Regions from separate parts of the Homo sapiens genome. Here all the other regions are linked to region 1. The links are contacts of gene promoters, found by promoter capture Hi-C in blood cells and fetal thymus (Javierre and others, 2016). All regions are on one chromosome and are shown on one strand. Each heading gives the region's core, a stretch centred on a gene start or on the middle of the fragment in contact. The rest is flanking DNA. Distances are from core to core; before and after follow the strand shown. Region 1 holds the start of ZNF304 (zinc finger protein 304). Region 2 holds the start of ZNF135 (zinc finger protein 135). Region 3 holds the start of ZNF417 (zinc finger protein 417).

Region 1 (2,537 bases), core at 23-2,522:
TAACTCCTTCCTCTGATACCTGTTTCCAACAAAGGTAATTAAGACCTGAGATTCCCTGAGCGCTCCAAACTCAATCCTACAAGCATTTGAGCGTACCTGTTCCTAGGTCTGATATACTTTTGCAGTACTCATCCCATTGGTCGCCAGGTGGGGACTTCTCCACATAACTCCATACAACTCATGGCCTGGATTCAGGACACTAAACTAGAAATGACCTCCATTCACTGCCCCCTGTCTCAAGTGAAGACAGTCATGTGAAGAATCCCAGGATATCATCACTATGTCTCATCAGAGAATCTGGTCAGCCTTCCTTATAAAATACATACAAAACCCAAAACCCATACATTCTCTAACCTCTGCTGCCACCACTCTGGCCCAGACCATCAACGCTCACCTGGACTATTTCAGTAGACTTCATCTTGATCTCCCCGTCTACCCTATAATCCCTAGTCTACCCACTCTGCAGCCAGAGGGAGCCTTTTAAGAACTGCGTCAGAGGACCTCCCTTCTCTGTACCAAACCTTGCATGACTCCCAGCACCCTCAGAAGAGAGGACCAGCTCCTCGGGCGGCCATTCCAGGCCTACCTCTGACCCCCTAGTCCCTGTTCTCACCAGGCACAGAGAGTTCCCGGAACTCCCCAAACTCATTCTCCTCTCCATGCATGCATTTGTACGAACTGCCCCTGCGCCTTCGAGTCCGTTCCACACCTTATGCCACTGATGAGGGGAGCGGAACCCCTCCACATAATGCGACGGAGTGAGCACCCTGAAGTGCGCGATGAGAGCGAACATCCCAGGACACACCAACCAGGCCGGGGTGCGCTTGAGGGATGCCCCCACTCACCTGAACCCGGTCCATCAGCACCGCCGCTGCCATGAGAAGCGGATGAACAGTCTGTGCCCTGTGGGCTCAGCCGAAACCCCACGCCTCCACCGCGCTGGACGCCCTCGGGCTGAGTGTAGCACTCCAAGTCTCAATCTACCCGGTGTAAAAACGCTCACAAGACTAAGGCGGCTGCTTCTGGGGGAGACAAGGACAAGAGGACGTGTGTGGAGGCCTCGGTAAGAGCCCAGCCCCGGCAGACACCTCCGCGAGAGGCCGCCCGTCCCACGACAGGGGTCATGGATTGTAACAAAAGCGCGAAGGAAGGTCCTGCAGTCTTCACTGTCTTTCTTTGCTAGGTTCCACGAGAGCCGCGTAGAAAGCCGACCCGATCTCTAGAACTCAGCCTTCACAACCAGAATGCACGGACCGGGCATAGGAAAAATACGTCACGACGGCGACGCCAGAAGTCTCGCCCCTGCAGCCCAGAGCAGCAGGAAACGCCCAGTTTCTGGGCTGTCATTGGCTGCACGCCGGCTAACAATGAGCTGGGCACAGATTTCTGGGTAACGTAGTTTGTACCCTGCATCCAACCAGGCAACGAGCGCCTTTCGGGTTCTCCCGGATGTCTGCCAAGAGGCGTCGTGCAGGGAGGGGGAGAAAAGACTGGGAAAACGATATCTCGGAGGCCACAGCTGCTTTTAAAGGGTATGCACCCTGATTTCCATGGCCACCTGGGACAATGCCACGCCACTGAAGTCGCCAGCAAGGGACCCATTCTTCAATCCTGCTTCTGAGGCCCTGGGAAACCTGCTTCACCTCTCTCAGATTTGGGGATTGAAACGTATTAATAAATTGAACGTTGTCTGTATTTCGTTTGTGGGCCTTTTTGTAAAACATTGAATGTCCTTCTAATTTTTCTAACATATAAAGAAAAGAGATGTAATTAGCTACCTTTCTGCTGGCTGTACAGGAAGCATGGTGCCCGTATCTGCTTCTGGTGAGGCCACAGGGAACTTTTATTCATGGCGAAAAGTGAAGGAGGAACTTACATGTAACATGACGAAAACATGAGCCTCTTCTAATTCATTGCTTCCCAATTTGATATGTAGTTTTACAGCATCAGCTTCACTATGAACTTAAAAAACCTGTGAATTCTTGGACCCAACCTATACCTTCTGATAAACTCTGGGGATGGGACCCTAGCTGAAGTTCAAGAACTGGAGGTCTTTTAAAGTCATTAGCCAAAAACAAAACAAAACAAAAACAAACAAAAAAAAATCAGTAAGATGAAAAACACTACAACCAACCTCATTAGGAATATGGGAAGTGAGGTAAAAAGTACTTAACACCAGGCCTGGCACATCGTGCTAAATACATACAAGCTGTTATCAGTCTTCCTCAACACAAGGTTCTCACATACACTGCTTTAGGAAGATAAATCAAAGATCCACCTTTTCAGGATCAGTGTGATTTTGAAAAAAAAAGAAAAAAGTACAATTATTCCCTCACTCATCAAATAGCATCATAGATAATAGTTATAATTTTTTTTTGAGACAGAGTTTCACTCTTGTTGCCCAGGCTTAAGTGCAATGGCACGATCTCAGCTCACTGCAACCTCTCCCTCCCAGGTTCAAGCGATTCTCCTGCCTCGGCCTCCCGAGTAGCTGGGATTACAAGCATCCGCCACCATGCCCGGCTAATTTTGTATTT
Region 2 (2,537 bases), core at 20-2,519, 710 kb before region 1:
CGCCATCTTGGAGCGCAGAGCATGCTAAGGCCTTCAACTTCAGACTGCAGAGCCGGGGCACCTACAATTTTCTGACATCACCCAGCCTCAGGTATGCAATGACGGCCGCACAAACATAAAGCCCACTCAGACAGGGACCCGTGCCCGCTGACCTCCAGCGCGGCGTGGGCGGTCCTTTCAGAGGCAGGCTGTGGTTGGGGAGCTTGGCGCGGACTTTAGGAGGCCGGGTGTGCAGGTAGAGGCCGGACACGAGTAGAGGCTAGATGTGCAAATAGAGGCCGGGCACGAGTAGAGGCCGGGCACCAGTAGAGGCCAGGTGCGCGAGTAGAGGCCAGTTGTGCGAGTAGAGGCCGGGCACGAGTAGGGGCCGGGCACGCAAGTAGGGGCCGGGCACAAGGAGGAGGCTGAGCGCGAGTAGGGACGGGGTGCAAAGAGGAGGCCGGGCGTGAGAAGGCCGCGCGCGAGGAGGCCGGGCACGAGGTGGAGGACACGCGCAAGGAGGCCGAGATTCTCACCGGGTCTGTGGAGACGCGCACCCCAGGGGTCATGCCCTGGCTTCTGGCAGGAACGGCTGGCCCTGCTCTGTGGGAAAGGGGAGGTGAGCAGCTGGGGCAGGCAGAGGCGGTGCTCAGGTCCCCAAGCCGGGGAACTGCGCCAGAGCCTGGGGAGCTCCGCGGAGAGCCGTCCAGGGCCCCGCGTACCCGTTTAAGCGCCTGCTGTGTGTGGGGCGGCCCTCCGCTCGGAGAAGGGCAGCCTAGGGTTTTCCCGCCTGTCTGAGGGAAGCTGAAGGCCTGGCGGGTGCGGACACATATCTGCTGCGCAGACTCTGAGCCTTAACGCTACAGTGACAAGGGCCGGGTGGTTGCGGTCCCCTGGCCCTGGGCACTATGCCTCAGTTTCTCTCTTCCATCAACAAAGGTGGCGGCCCAGTGCCCGGTGTGGGGCAGAGGTGGGGCCAGGGGCGGGGCGCGCGTTCCCTCAGGGGCCGTCGGAGCAGCTCCTGTCCAGCTGGGCGTTGGGCCCCGCCCTCCTCTCAGACTAGGGATGCCCCGCAAAGCCTGCCCCCGCCAGCCCCGAAACGGCCTTCCCCAGGCCCCGGGCAGCAAAACGGACTCCACACAGACGCGCGCTGCTGGAAACTCGCCCCGCCAGGGCCTCAGGAAGATCCCCGGACCCCCCGCACCCGGCCCGGCCCGGCCCGGCCTGGCCTCCCCTCCCCCTCCTCGCCGGCCTAGCTCACCCTCCTGACTGCGAGACAAAGGCCGCGGCACCGGCAGCCGACACTGCGCCGGCGCGAGCCTAACTCCATTTCCCAGAGAGCCGCGCGCGCATTTCCGGCCGCCCTCCCCCACCTCGCTCTCGCCCTTGGCGTTCGTGAGCTCTCAGTGCTGCTGGAGCTGGAGTGACTGGGCCTGGTGAAACAGGGCGCGCGGGGTGCCTGGGCATCAACGCGGGATAAGTGCCGCTTGGAACGCCGTGAGCTCCCGGCGCGACCACACGGGCTTTCGTGTTGGAAACTCTACCGTCAGTTTTACTGCTGCAAACAAAGCAATGATTTTTTCAAAACACATACTTTCAACCAAAACATTCACCAAGATCGCACACACGGGAGTCTTTGCATTTTCCACACTGAGGCAGCCATGGAGACTTCACACTGTATTTATTACATGGTTATAAGGAACATCACGTGCAAGACACTAACAATTATGACGACTTTGGACATTGCTAGGTAATTGTCAAAATTGTGCATTTGAACAGCAGCAAAATATTCAAAGCTGGTGTGCCCTCGCTGACACGAAATGAATTGTCATTTTCTGAACATTCACCAAAGCCTGCCAGGCGCTAGGCCTAGGTTCAGCAGCACACAATAGTGAAGCCCCCATTCAAGCGGGCTTCGTTTCACCAGCGTACGTCACACGTCCGTGGAGCAGCGAGACCAGAGGAGCTGGGAAAGCCAGGGCTGAGCCTTGTGCTTTTGCCCTTTTAAGGGAGGACAGATTAATTCCAATCAGCCTGGGCTTGGGAGCTGTATTTGAAGCAGAGGAAAAGTTTTAAGACGGGCATTTTTTTTTCTTTGACTGAAACAACTCTGAAAACAGCAGAGAACACAATACGAATTCTCGTACCACACACAGACACTTGCAAAGATTTGGCTGGTTAACACACAAGTTAAGACTTTAAATTTCATAAGCCCTAAAACAGTGGCAATTATGAAGAGATATAATGGCTCAAAATCATAATGCACTGATGTAAACAAAGCAAAGGCAAGCTTCTTGGCTTTTAAGGGCGTCCTGTACATTCCAAGTACTGTAAAGCCCCACATTTGTGACCGTCGCACTGAAAGCCAGCCTGCTTTTCACTCTACAGCAGTAAAGAGGCTTTCCATTATACATAAAATGCCGTTTTTCAGTTCTCGAACTCACAAACCCAAATGCCACAAAACATCTTTTTGTGTATTTTTTCTTTCACAAAATGTATACTCTTGCCCCCCACCCCCACCCCCAACCGTTTCCTTTTACTGGATCAAAAGGTATGAA
Region 3 (2,537 bases), core at 38-2,537, 570 kb before region 1:
TTGGTTTTATACATTTTAGGGGGACATGAGACATCAGTGAATATATGTAAGAAGTACATTGGTTCCGACCAGAAAGGCGGGAACAACTCGAAGCAGGGAGGGGACTTCCAGGTCACAGGTAGACAGGTAGAGAGACAAATAGTTGGATTCTTTTTAATTTCTGATAAGTCCTTCCAAAGGAGGCAATCAGAATAGGCATCTATCTCAGTGAGGAGAGGGAAGACTTTGAATAGAATGGGAGGCAAGTTTGCCCTGAGCAGTTCCCAGATTGACTTTTCCCTTTAGCTTAGTAATTTTGAGGCCACAAGATTTTCCTTTCACAGATTCTATCAGCAGGAGAGTTGTTTTCTGTAGGAATCACAGAGATTCAGCTTTGCACTCCTGCTATAGGGGAGCACATCCCTAACTTCCTTCATTTGCCTTAGGCACTCTAAGGCTTCTGAGGGCCTTCAGACACATTATAACACAACAACGCTTATCAGCCTCTGCTTCCAGTGCAGGTATTTTGCGACTGAACGACTGTTTCAAACGGTGTGGTAATTTGGATTTTTAGCCTTTAGGAGAATCCTAAATAATAGTTTTAGCTTGAGCTCCCTATTATTTACCTTGCGCTCCCCGAAATCTGAAACAGTATTTTTCCAGATTCTTGAGTGATTAGTTACAGACACTAGTCTCCAGGAATCTCAATACGGCTTCTAAGGCTAGGTGAGACCCCTCCTCTGCCCTAGAAAGGCGCCTTTTTTTTTTTTTTTTTTTTTTTTTTTTTTTTTTTTTTTGAGACAGAGTCTTGCTCTGTCGCGCAGGCTGGAGGGCAGTGGCGCGATCCCAGCTCACTGCAAGCTCTGCCTCCCAGGTTCACGCCATTCTCCTCCAGCCTCAGCCTCCAGAGTAGCTGTGACTGTAGGCGCCCGCCACCACACCCAGCTAACTTTTTTTTTTTTTGAATTTTTAGTAGACACGGGGTTTCACCGTGTTAGCCAGGATGGTCTCCATCTCCTGACCTCGTGATCCGCCCACCTCCGCCTTCCAAAGTGCTGAGATTACAGGCTTGAGCCACTGCGCCCGGCCAGAAGGGTGCGCTTTTTAAGGAGAACCCCTGACCTGATGGCGGGCTTTTCCTGCAGATGGACTCTGGGTATCGCTCTTTTTAGCGCCATGGAAAGTGGGGAACTACATTACCCAGAAAGCTCTGCGTTAAACGACAGCCGGTCAGAGCCAATGAGCACTCGGAAAGAAGGCATTTCCACGTGTGCACGTAACGTAAGGCTGAGACTTCCGGGGTCTCTAGTAGCGGCTGTGTATCGGTGACGCGGGTGTTTCCCCAGTTTGTGGCCCCTGAGTGCTGGGGGGGGACCGCGGTGACTGAACCTAGAAGGTGGAGAGGAATCGTCCTCGGTGCCCAGAGGCGGCTCTGCAGCCCCGTGACGGCGACCACTGCTCCCGGGCCGTGCTTCCCCAAGTAGTCCGATGGCAGCGGCTGCGCCGAGGCGCCCGACTCAGGTAATTGTGGCGCCTTCTGTGCCCTCAGGTCACCCCATCGTCACCCAGGTCCTAAACCAGCGAGGGAGCGGCTCCTGCTCACGGGTCTGTAGCCGGTACCCGGCGTAGGAACACTGAGGCGCTCGCAGGAGGGGTCCCTGTGTAACTGTCCAGTGGGGGTCCCTGTGTAACTGTCCAGTGGGTTCACCTTGCCAGCTGCCTAGACAGAGCCGATTTATGAAGACTGGAGAATTGCGATGGAGAAATAGTAATTGACGCAGAGCCGTCAGGCTGTTCTGGAGACAGGAGTTTTATTATTACTCAAATCAGTCTCCATTAGCATTCCGGGATCAGAGTTTTCAACATTAATTTGGCGGTAAGGGTTGGGACCTGAGATGGATTCATAGAGGGTTAAAGTGAGTTTTTCATGCTGTTTTCTGTTCTGGGTGGGATGGCAGAACTGATTGACCCAGATTACCGGTCTGTGTGTTGTCAGCTGATCCATCCAGTGCAGGATCTGCAAAATACCTCAAGCACTGATCTTAGGTTTTACAATAGTGATTTATCTTCAGGAGCAACTTGGGGAGGTTCAGACTCTTGGAGTCAGAAGCTGCATGACCCCTAAACGGTAATTTCTAACCTTGTAGCTAATTCGTTAGTCCTGCAAAGGCAGGCTGTTCTCCAGGCAAGAAGGGGGTCTTTTCAGGAAAGGGCTATTATCAATTTTGTTTCAGAGTGAAACCATGAACTGAATTCCTTCCCTAAGTTAATTCAGCCTATACCCAGGAATGAACAAGGACAGCTGAAAGGTTGGAAGCAAGACGGAGTCAGTAAGGTCTGATTTCTTTCACTGTCATAATTTCCTCAGTTATAATTTTGCAAAGACGGTTTCACCTGTTTCTGACACCCGTGGGATGCGGTGGGGAGAGCAACAAGCACAGGGAGGGGCGCAGGCAATGGCCTGGAGATGGACGGAGCCGGGAGGATGGAACCTGTCTGGAACAAAGTGTGAGGTGGAGCTCTCCCTGGAAGAGTAAGCAGGCCGAGGGCTGTGCATT

What was found. The method cuts DNA at HindIII sites, captures the fragments that hold promoters and counts their contacts. A CHiCAGO score of 5 or more calls a contact.
Region 2: the fragment with the promoter of ZNF135 here is called in contact with the fragment with the promoter of ZNF304 in region 1 in 3 of 17 cell types (naive CD4 T cells, total CD4 T cells and non-activated CD4 T cells); the score reaches 8.6 in naive CD4 T cells.
Region 3: the fragment with the promoter of ZNF417 here is called in contact with the fragment with the promoter of ZNF304 in region 1 in 4 of 17 cell types (non-activated CD4 T cells, total CD8 T cells, total CD4 T cells and 1 more); the score reaches 6.7 in non-activated CD4 T cells.

What each region holds. Positions count from the first base shown.
Region 1 is chr19:57,350,006-57,352,542 of GRCh38, reverse strand. ZNF304 (zinc finger protein 304) reads right to left here and starts at 1,272. Exons shown (of 3, transcript NM_020657.4): 1 at 846-1,272. The coding sequence starts at 878. RefSeq lists enhancers at 970-1,039, 378-1,236, 1,190-1,279, 1,237-2,096. The HindIII fragment of the contact is 5,195 bases long and covers 1-2,537 here.
Region 2 is chr19:58,058,014-58,060,550 of GRCh38, reverse strand. ZNF135 (zinc finger protein 135) reads right to left here and starts at 1,269. Exons shown (of 5, transcript NM_001289401.2): 1 at 1,241-1,269; 2 at 516-582. The coding sequence starts at 548. The HindIII fragment of the contact is 3,956 bases long and covers 1-2,271 here.
Region 3 is chr19:57,915,342-57,917,878 of GRCh38, reverse strand. It overlaps ZNF417 (zinc finger protein 417), which reads left to right and starts at 1,287. Exons shown (of 3, transcript NM_152475.3): 1 at 1,287-1,500. The coding sequence starts at 1,468. RefSeq lists enhancers at 911-970, 367-1,222, 1,241-1,530. The HindIII fragment of the contact is 13,199 bases long and covers 1-2,537 here.